2 separate regions of the Homo sapiens genome follow, and region 2 is linked to region 1. The links are contacts of gene promoters, found by promoter capture Hi-C in blood cells and fetal thymus (Javierre and others, 2016). All regions are on one chromosome and are shown on one strand. The core of a region is centred on a gene start or on the middle of the fragment in contact, and the rest is flanking DNA. Distances in the headings are between cores, read along the strand shown.

Evidence for each region. Contacts are between HindIII fragments. The CHiCAGO score rates a contact against its expected background, and 5 or more counts as called.
Region 2: a contact is called between a fragment that was not itself captured here and the fragment with the promoter of CCER1 in region 1, in 1 of 17 cell types (M2 macrophages). The highest score is 5.6, in M2 macrophages.

The regions. Positions count from the first base shown.
Region 1 is chr12:90,952,934-90,958,669 of GRCh38, reverse strand. It overlaps CCER1 (coiled-coil glutamate rich protein 1), which reads left to right and starts at 3,494. Exons shown (of 1, transcript NM_152638.4): 1 at 3,494-5,736. The coding sequence starts at 3,928. The coding sequence ends at 5,148. RefSeq lists an enhancer at 4,486-4,585. The HindIII fragment of the contact is 2,103 bases long and covers 3,237-5,339 here.
Region 2 is chr12:88,161,040-88,166,775 of GRCh38, reverse strand. It overlaps TMTC3 (transmembrane O-mannosyltransferase targeting cadherins 3), which reads right to left. Exons shown (of 14, transcript NM_181783.4): 7 at 194-446. Among named protein-coding and RNA genes, the nearest start is that of TMTC3, 22 kb to the right of the region's middle. The HindIII fragment of the contact is 2,457 bases long and covers 1,090-3,546 here.

The DNA.
Region 1 (5,736 bases), core at 2,245-4,744:
TTCCATCTTGCTAGGAGAAACTATGGAGATTTTCTTTGCCAGTTAGATGATGTGAGCAGCCCCGTTGAGGAAGCCCACAGTTCTTGCTTTGGGCAGTGTCTAAGAACCGCCCTTAGCCCCTAGGACTAGTGGGTGGCCTCAAGTCCTAAAGCTGGGCTCCAGCCAACAGAGAGCTAAAAGGCAGGGCCATCAGTCTTACAGCCATGGGGAATAAATTCTGCCAATGCCATAAATGATCTTAGGAGTGAATTTTTCTGAATTGAGCACATCAGTGAGAACTCAAACCATTCAAAATCTTAATTACAGCCTGTAGCAGTCTGTTCTCATGCTGCTAATGAAGACATACCCGAAACGGCACAATTTATAAAGAAAAAGAGGTTTAATGGACTCACAGTTCTACTTGGCTGGGGAGGCCTCACACTCATGGCAGAAGGTAAAGGAGGAGCAAAATCACGTCTTACGTGGTGGCAGGCAAGACAGAATGTGAAGCAAGAGAAAGGTGTTTCCCCTTAGAAAACCATCAGATCTCGTGAGACTTATTCACTACCACGAGAACAGTATGGGGAAACCACCCCCATGATTCAATTATCTCCCACTGGCTCCTTCCCACAACATGTGGGAATTATGGGAGCTACAATTCAAGATGAGATTTGGGTAGGGACACAGCCAAACCATATCACAGCCTGTTGCACCCATGGACAAAGGGCCCACTAAGATATTCCTGGACCCCTGATTCCTGAAAACCTTGAGATAATAAATGTATATTGTTTTAAGTAACCAAGGTTGTGATCATTTGTTATGCAGCAACAGAAAGCTAATACAATATTCAACAACAGGATGAATGTGTTATATTTCAATATTGAATCAGAATATTTCATTTCATGGTATTGAAAGAATATGGGTCAATTAAAAATGTGTCCTTACATTGGTCAACAGGTACAAAGTTACAGGTAGGGAGAAGGAGTAAGTTTTGGTGTTCTAATGCACATCAAGGTGACTACAATGAACACCAATGTATTGTGTATTTCAAAATAGCTATAAGAGAGGATTTTAAATTCTCACCACAATTAAACGACAAATACTTGAATATACTAATTAGCCTAATTTGATCATTTCATAAAGTATATATGTATGGAAATATCACATGGTGCCATATATATATACAATAATTTGTCACTAAAAAAAGAACTATAAAAGTGTCTTTAAAAATTAATTAAATGTCTGACTTTTTGTTTAACATGCTTTAGTGGTAAATTTTCTTGGATGATTTACCAGTACATTCAAAACTTGTATTATAATTCCAATCTCTGTAAAATTAAAATCATAATCAAAATAATAAATTGCTGCTTCTCTTAAGAAAATTCGGGCAAGCCAATAACGTGTCAATGTTGTTCAGTAGGGAGAATAAATATTCTCACCATGCAAAAAGTATATAATGCCAAGATTAACTGTATAAAGGTCACATCAACTGATCAAAAAATGATGTCCTTAATTACCTGTAAAATGAGTTAACCATCTCTTTTAAAACAAAAAGAAACTGATTGGAATTTCAACACAGCAACATGGTCCATCTGTAATGCTCTCAATTAAAACCCATTTTTGCATAACACACGTCCTTAGAAAAAAATAAAACTGGGCTCTCACCATTCCATTTTGAGTACACAGAGCAGGGTCAGAATAACTGCCAAAGGTGAGTCCATATCTAGAAAGGGATACTGCAGGCTAAACATGTCAGCATTCTGTACTTTGAGTCAAGCAGGGGTGTCCTCAGCAAACCACAGAGCAAATGAAATTAAATGAAGCCTGTGGATTCTACAGGTCTCAGGGCAAATGTTGGAGTCCTGATCCAAGACCCCCTATAATGTTCTCAATTTTCAGCCAGGAATGCATAAATGACCTTTGCCAGCTTCAGGGCTTTCACACATTTTGCTTTTCTGGCATTTAATGGAGCCTTATATAGACTGAAGTTCCCAGCAGGCAGTTTTCCATTTTGTGCAATTCCACTCAGCACAGAAAAGTAAGAAAGGGATATAAACTGAGACGGTTTTCTCTAGGACCAAGTATGGTAGCACTTTCCTTGACGTTTTACAAAGAAGGACAAGAAAAGGACACAAGCCAGGGTGGGGATGCCTATTTTTGCATCAAGAACAAGTGCCTTTACATATACTATATCATCTCTTTTAGAAGTCATGAAGTATTTACAAATAAGGATGATAGTTAACAGTTACTGAGTACTTACAGGGTACCTGCACTAAGTACTTGAAGGAATTACAGTAAGTCCTCACTTAGCATCATAGGTTCTTGGAAACTGCTACTTTTAAATGAGAAGACATATAATGAAACGTGGTTTTGTTATTGTTGTTGTTTTGCCTCAGCAACGTTATAAGGAAATGACATTGAGCAAAACATTAATATTAGAGGACCTGTTATATGCATTTAATTCTTTACACAACCGTATGGAAAAGGTAGTATAATCATGGTATGGGTAAGGAAACTGAGGCTTACAGAGATTAATAATTGGTGAGTTGAAGTTGAATCCCATTTATTTAAATTAAAACCCATATGCTTAACCACAATGCTTTAAAGGCTTCCCGTGTATATGCTGTATGGTCAGTGAAGGGACAAAAGGAAAGACAATCAGAATATTCCTCTTCCCAAGGACAAACCTGTGGTATTCATTATGGTAATAATAATATTTGTTTAATTGAGGTACACATGTACGGTATATTACCAATAGCAAAGTACCTTCCCAAATGTTATGTCATTTAGTTATCACAAGGGTCCTACTGGGGGTTTGGTAGAACACATAGCAATGTCATTAGGAACCTAACTTTTGGGTCAAACAGGTTTAGGCTTAAATCGTAGCCTGGAAATTTATTAGCCCCACAACCATGGGGAAATTAAGCTCTCAGTTCCCTCATCTGTGACAGGTGATAAGATACGCCTACCTCTCAGGGTAGATGACAGGATTATTTGTCAGTGAGCACATGCAATAATAAATGTTCGTGGTCTTGTTTTATGTATTATGAATCCCAATTCTCAGGAGTAAGAAGAGTTGGCACCGGCCAGAAGGTAAGAGGTTGGGCAAAGTTTCCTTTCTCCAGTAATTTTCCATGATCCCTTAGGCCCTCCAAAGGTGTAGAATGTGGGGTTTTCAAAACTCAAGTTCTCCCGCCCCCACCGGGTTCAGATGAAGGCCCATCTTCTAAACCCCCGCCTCAAGGTGATACAAAGCTTTCGGATAAACTGCCTCCAGACTTGCTTGAATTGAGCAGCAGAAACCCAGCCTGGACCCCTCTTCACCTCCCCCAAACGCTGCGTCACAAGCCCCCTGCGAATGTTCACCTGGAGCCTGGTTCCGGACAGAACCCGGCCTTGCACACAGGGAGGACGATTTCGACCCCAATTGGCTGTTGCCCTGGGTGACCAAGAACGCAGTGGGCACGCGGGAGACCACAGCCAGTATTTAAAGGCTGCCGCTGCCCTCGCCACCACAGTCCTGCCAGGACGGCGACAGTGAAGCACCTGGGTTGAGAGGGAGCAGCAGGTAACTGCGCAACCCCTGCCTCCCCCGGCCCCAGCCCGTGCCTCAGCAGAGCCGGGTGTGGTGGGGACCCGGGAGTGGGTCTCACTGCGTGTCGCCTGCCAACACCTTCCTCCCCCACCATCCTTACCCAGCCCCAGTCCCACCCAGCACACCTGGGCGAGACAACCCAGGTGCGAAGGACAAGCGATTACTACCGAAGAGCGTGCAAACCAGGAAGAGAGCAGCCTCCTGGAGAGGAAAACGTGATCCCAGGGGTAGACACGTGGCGCTGCGTGGAGAGACAGGTTGACGAGACGAGGCTCTTCTGACCGTCCTACCTGGCAAAACTTGACGACAGCTTCAGGTCGCTACCATCTGGACCTCTCGGAGCTCCCTGAACCATGACTCAGACCCTCGACACAAGGGAAGACCCTCTGAACCTGGGCGGCGGTGGCGGCGGCGGCTGTGGCTGTGGCTGGGCACACTCGGCCTCCTTGAGCTCCTGGTCGTCCTGCCATCGAAGGCGCCCGGGTGCTCCAGCGTACAATAGACCGCACCGATATAGCCCCAAGACCGAGTATGGGCCCCCAAGGAAGCAGCCGAAGCAACAGCACGGCCCGGGCTTTTGGTTCCAACCACCCGTGTGCTCTAACTGGGGGTGCTGGGGAGGGCCCTGGCGCCCACCCCCTCCAGGATTCTGGAAATTCCCCTGCCCGGTGCAAGTGTTTCGGGTGTATGGCCTGCACCCTCTCTGCTTTTGCTGCTGCTCCTGCTGGAGCGGGTCCTGGAACCCTGGCTGGGTGAAGCCCCCAGGCAGGAAGAAGCGCTGGGGCCGCAGAGGCCGCGGCCTGCGCCACCACCCTCGCCACTCCTACCCGCGGAGCCCGCCAGCGGATGTGAGCACGCTGCCGCGGCCGGTCAAGCTGTATGAGTGGAGAGAGCCTGGCATGCGAGCGCCGCCCAACACCACCCAATTCATCATGAACCAGATCTACGAGGACATGAGGCAGCAGGAGAAGGTGGAGCGTCAGCAGGAGGCGCTGCGGGCGCAGAAGGCCACGGTGAGCGGCGAGGCCTCCCCAGCCAGATCCTCCGGAAACGACGCGCCCCCTGGCGGCAGCAAGGAAACCTGGGGACTGCAGGAAACTCTGTATGGCTTTGTGCAGAATCCCTCTCTAGCATTCAGTCCCAACCCAGAGGAAAACCAGTCTCTTGCCCCGCTGCTGGTGGAAGAAGAGGAGGAGAAGAAAAATGATGATGAGGAGGAGTATGACCAGGAGGTGTGTGATGCAAAGGAGGCGAGCGAGGAGGAAGAAGAGGTCGAAGATGAGGAGGAAGAGGTCGAAGATGAGGAGGAAGAAGAGGTCGAAGAGGCTGAATATGTGGAGGAGGGAGAGGAGGAGCTGGAAGAGGAGGAGCTGGAAGAGGAAGAGGAGGTCCTGGAGGAGAACGAGCAGAGAGGGGAAGAATTTCACTTGCCTCTGGAAATGCCTTTATCAATCTTCGTAGAGGCTGAAGAAAAGAGAGAGAACTTTATAAGCTGCACTTTTTTAAACCCAGAGCAGATAATTCCCAAAGTGCCACAGGAATCCCTGTTCATGGCACAGGACTTTAACTGTTAGACATCAGAAAAGGGATTGAGAAAAGGGATGGAACTGATTTGAGGCTAAACTGGATTAGCAATTTATTAAAAACTGATTAAAAAGTGAGTTCCATTAATAAACAGATCTATGTAAACACCTTCTTTGGCCATTATAAAATGTTTAAAATTTGATGCGTATGTGTATGACTATGGGTGGGTGGTGGGGAAGCTTTCAAATATAATTTTACTGGAACTGATTAAAGGCCAAGTATTTTATTACTACCATTTGAATATTTTCATTTGGTGTTTTCCCCTCTAGAAAACAGAGTTGCTGTTGTTTTTTTAAATCTGGCAATGCTGAAAAAGCGTTTGTTTTTGAAACAAATTTATACAACTTGGCCACTTAATGAGCTTGGAATCAAGAGATAGTTTATTACATGCGTAAGAAGCACATTCTAACGCTACTAAATGTTCACCAGTGCTCTTAACATAACTGAAGCCATTTTCAATCCCTGTATTTTTTCAACAATATTTTTCCTCATAGATTTTTCCACCATCAGAGTTCATTTTTGAGGGTTATATTTTGTTAACCTCATTTGCAGGCTCTTGTGTCATCGCTTATTGATAT
Region 2 (5,736 bases), core at 1,069-3,568, 2.8 Mb after region 1:
CTGAACATATGTCAAATTATGCCTGCAAATTAACTGAGAATTTTGGGATAAACTCAAATACGTTTATAAATTGGGATGCCGTTGAACAAAGAAAGGAGTGCTTCTAAAAAGATGCTTTTGCTGAATTAAAGGTAGTTTCTTACTTATTCAACTGAATGTTAACATCATTTGGAAGTTAAGAAAAGTTTCTTACCATTAAAACAGTCTTGGAGGAATCACCAGAGTATCTGATACTGAATACTCCCAACATCCCCAGAAAACAAAAGAAAGTAAATGTGGCCAGATTTCGAATATCTAGTAATGACTCTATAAGTGGTATTGTTCCCATGGTCCAATCACAGCAGAGCTCTGAAGGATTTAATAACAACCAAGCATTCACAGGAAGGAGGTAGTTAAAAGTTAGTTGCCTTGTAGGAGTTGGGCTTACAGCAGCTGGGTTATCAAACCTGTATAAAGGATTAAAAAAAAGATTACAAATAAAACTTTTAAAGTACAGAATTATTTACATAAGTAAAACACTAAACAATAAACATTTTATATATCATCTTATTAAACAGAAGACACAGACAAATGTTATGTGTACCTCAGACTCTTGCTAGAGTTCAAACTATCAAAACTTTATGAAACATCTACTTCAGAGAAGTGATATTTATGAAGGACTGTTTGAAAGGCAAGCAGGTCATCCATTTCTGTTTATTATTAGAATAATTCAGACATGCATCCTATAATATTACAACACTGCAAAAGTGTTCCATTAAACCTTTTGATTAAAAGTAGTAACAAAAAGTTGTATAAGATTTATGGTTGTATGTGTTGTATGAATCACTTTTGAAAACACTCACCAATGCTTTCCTACATGAGACATTTCTTTTAGAGCTAAATGCTAATTAAAAATTATGCTTCCTGGAAAAAATTCGTATATTTTTCTTCTGTCATGGAGAGAGAAAACCATATCACCTAGCTTCCTTCCCTCTTTTCTTTGACTCCTAGGAAGCTAAAAACCAAATTTCTAGTACAAAGTAGTAACTGTGTAGGCCTGTGTAAGAATTTGTGTTCTACTTTCTCTCTTAGTAAATACTAATATAAGCTTATATCATAGTTTATCTTTTCCCAGGCCACAACATATATACATTTCATTAGTTTAGTCTGTGTTCTAAATTATATTGGTTATAATATATAGTACTTAAAAGACCCATTTTCTCATTTTAAGATGAGTAAGCCAAGGAAAATCAACTACTGCCACTTATTTGACTTGATTTTCTGAAAACATATCAAATATTTGATAAAAATAAATACTATTTGAACAAATAATATCATTTCAAAATTTTCATACGGAATCTCACAACTTACATATTATTTTTCAGATAAAATAATAAATCTTGAGTCTGAACTTGAATTCTCAAAATAACCAGCAGAACTGAATAAAAAGTTATCTTTTTGCCTATAATTCACTATTCGGAATTTAGTTTTAAAAATTACAGTTTATTTAGGATAGCTGATTTAAAGAAAGAGTTAATGTCAAAATAAATCAAATTATATTAAATCCAACTTCAGAGGGTAATAGAATTTATACACACATACACAAACATATATACACAATGTTGAAATGCTTTATTTGGAAAATATTTATATGCTATAAGCACCATATTCATACCTACTAACACATACATAAATTCACACCTATAAACTATATTTTTAGACTGTAGATAGGGAAATAGAAAATAGTTGATTCAAATTCTCTAAAAGGAATAACAGAAAACCAATGAAACTAAGAAGGAAATCCGAAGTCTTATATAAACAATTCAATCTTCTCTATTTCCAATACTGTAATATCTGCACAAGTTCATTTTAGCACGGCTAGACTCAGAGATAAAAATCCAGGATATTAACAAGTAATTATTCTTTAAAGAAAAAAAAATGCTAGGGAGGATAGTTATGTGAAAATATCACACAGTTTTGGGTTTAAAAATTATCTGAATAAAATTTATTCTACCCAGCGCCAGCAATGCACGATCATGTAACATAATGTGAATAACATGTTGGCCTTTTGTTAAAAATAAAAGTTCTTGCATGTAATGGCAATAACTTAAAATTGAACAGGGAAATAGTATAAATTTCATTTTAAATTTTAGCCAAGTCAGGTGAAATGAAAAAAGGCTAAATGTTAAAGTAGATAAATATGATATGCAGACTTAAAATTCACTATATCTTCTGCTTTCTAGCCTTAAACAACTAAAAAACTGTATAAGAGGTATAATTTTTTTTTAAACATACTGAGCATAAGGTGAAAAAGGACTGTAATACCTGAGAGAAGAAAAACAAATAAGGGGAGCTTTTTCTGGAAAGAGTTTAGTACCTGGATAGAGTTTTTAGTCAGTAAAACAGCAAGAGGGAACCCAGGCTGAGCCCAGTGGTATACTGAATTGAGAGTATGAAGTTGGGAGCCCTAGGAGTGCGGGGGCTAGAATTAGTGAGGAAGAATCCAGACAGAAGAAAGCTGCTGAGAAAGAGAACCTGAGACATCTGTAGAGGGTCTCTCTCCAGTTTTCAATATTGATGAGTTCTTTTTTTTTTTTTTTTTTTTTTGAGACAAAGTCTTGCTTTGTCACCCAGGCTGGAATGCCATGGCACAGTCTTGGCTCACTGCAACCTCTGCCTCCCAGGTTCAAACGATTCTTGTGCCTCAGCCTCCCGAGTAGGTGGGATCAGTCGTGCACCACCACGCTGGCTAATTTTTCTATTTTTAGTAGAGATGAGGTTTCCCCATGTTGGCCAGGCTGGTCTCAAACTCCTGACCTCAAGTGATCACCTCAGCCTCTCAAAGTGCTGGGATTACAGGCGTGAGCCACCACACCTGGCCTGATTTTGATGAGTTCAAATCAGCACATATATGTGAGGAAATACCCATGGTCGGTGTAGTGGGTTGAATCATATTTCTAAAAAATTCATGTCTACCCTAACTTCAGAATGTGGTGTTATTTGAAAATAGTTTCTGCCAATATTAGTTAAGATGAGGTCACACTGGGTTAGGGTGGGCCCTAAATCCAACGACTGGGGTCCTCATAAAAAGAGAAGAAAGAGATACACTGGAAAAGAAGGCAATGTGAAGACAAAGTAGATTGAAGTGATGGAGTTACAAGCCAAGGAATGCCAAAGACTGCTAGCAACCACCAGAAACCAGCAGACAGTTATGGAACAAATTCTTCCTTAGAGCCTCCAGAAGGAACCAATTGTGCTGACATACTGATTTGGTATTTCTGGCCTCTTGAACTGTGAGGGAACAAATTTCTGTTATTTTAAGCTATTCAGTTTGTAGTTATTTGTTACAGCAGCCTTCAGAAAACTAATACAATCAGGCAAAAACCTCCTGAATGCATTAGAGCTAAAAATTCCCAAATATACCGAGCCAGGAATAGTTCCTCGGCAGACAGTGTGGAAATCTTCGTAATTTACAGTTCACATCCAATAGTCAAAAAGATCTTGCATCAGTAGTGAAGTGAAATTAGTCTTATCCTAAATGCTATTGTGGTCCCACAAAACAAAGCTTAAAAGCAAGACTGGGCTGGGTGCAGTGGCTCATGCCTGTAATCTCAGCACTTTGGGAGGCTGAGGTGGGCGGATCACCTCAGGTCAGGAGTTCAAGATCAGCCTGACCAATATGGAGAAACCCTATCTCTACTAAAAATACAAAAATCAGCTGGGCGTGGTGGCGCATGCCTGTAGTCTCAGCTACTCAGTAGGCTGAGGCAGGAGAATCGTTTAAACCTGGGAGGTGGAGGTTGCGGTGAGCCGAGATTGCGCCATTGCACTCCAGCCCTGGGCAACAAAAGCGAAACTCTAATCTCAAAAAAAAAAAGAAGAAAGAAAAAAAGCAAGACTGAAAGATAAAACATTTTCCAAGTAACTTAAATGCATTCCAGAATAAAACTCAAAATTTATAGAATACATTAAGGTAAAATTCACAAATGGTATCTGTTCAACAATTTCCCGACATGCAAAGAAGCAGAGAAATACAACCTATAATGAAGAGAAAATTTATTCAATAAAAACTGACCAAGGAATGACACAGATGATAGAATTAGTAGGCAAGGACATTAAAGCAATAGAACATGTAGAGATATAGAAGATATAAAAGAATACTCAAATCAGACTTCCTTCTGAAGATGAAAACAGATTCAGAGGTAAGAAACAACTAGATGAAATTAAGAGTAGATTAGATATTGCAGAAAAAAGATTAGTGAACTTGATATAGCAAAAGAAACTATCCAAACTAAAAATGGTAAAAGATTGAGGGAAAAAAACAGAGCATCAGTGCAACAACTTCAAGAAACTTAAATATACTTAACTGACATACAAGAAAAATAGGAAAAAGAAAAGATGGCAAAAATATTTGAAGACTAGCTAAACATTTTCCAAAATTTTTACAAAATTAAAATCTACAGATTTCAAGAAGCTCAGTTTACCTAAGCACAAGAAACATAAATACATAAGAAACAATGGTAAACAGGAAATATTAAAAACAGGCATAGAAAAAATACACATAACATACATTAGCATAAAGAGATAAGGATGATAGAGGTTTTCCCACTGAAAACAATAAAAGCCGGAAGACAGTAGATTTACATTTTCAGAATACTGAATGAAAAAGCCAGTGTAGAATTCTCCACCCAGAGAAGGTATCTTTCAAAACCTGATATTTTTAATCAGAAGTGCTAAAGAAATTCCTTCAGGTAAAAGGAAAAATAGTACCAGATAAAAATCTTATCCAACAAAGGAATAAAGAACACTGGAAATGGTGACTCATGGTTAATGTAAAATACTTTTTTATTATTTAAATTCCTCCAAGACAATTGTTTAAAGCAATGTATGTTCAAGGAAAACATATGCAAACTGCACAAAAGTTAAGTTCTTACATATATAAAATGTATATTACATATATTTATACTATATATACACTGATATTTTTATTTTATATATATATTCGAAATTAGAATATTCCTTGAAGGTAAACTGTGATAAGCAGAGGATGTTCTAAAATCCCTAAAGCAACACTAAAACAACAAAGATTTATAGCTAATAAGCCAACAAGGAGATAAAATGAAATATTAAAAAAAGAATCCAAAGGAAGGTGGAAAGAGAGAAAAAAGGAACAAAGATTAGATGAGACAAAGAGAAAACAATTTTATCAAGATGAAAGATTTCCATCAAACTATATCAATTATCAAATTAAATATAAATCAATGATATATCCCATCTAAAAGTCAGATTATCTGACCAAACAACAAAAGAAGACCAAATTGTATGGATGCTACAAGAAATCCTCTTTATAAATAAAAGCATAGACAGGTAAAAAGTAAAAAGATGGAAAAAGATACACCACCTAACACTAACGAAAGACAGCTGTGATAAGAAAAAGTGAATTTCTGAGTAAAGACTATTACTAGGGATGAAGCTCATTTAATAATGACAAAGGGATCAGTTCCTCAAGATGACTTGACAATCCTAGTTGTTTACGCACCTAATAGCAGAGCTTCAAAAACGCACAAAACAAAAACCGACAGAAGTGCAAGGAGAAATAGCGAAATCTACAAGTATAGTCAGAGATTTCAACATCTCTCAGTAACTGACAGAATGAGTAGACAAAAATCACTAAGGATATAGGAGACTAAATTAACACTAACCTTAACACTTAACCAGTTTGGGATGGGTCATTCATTATCTTTATTGTGGGGGCTT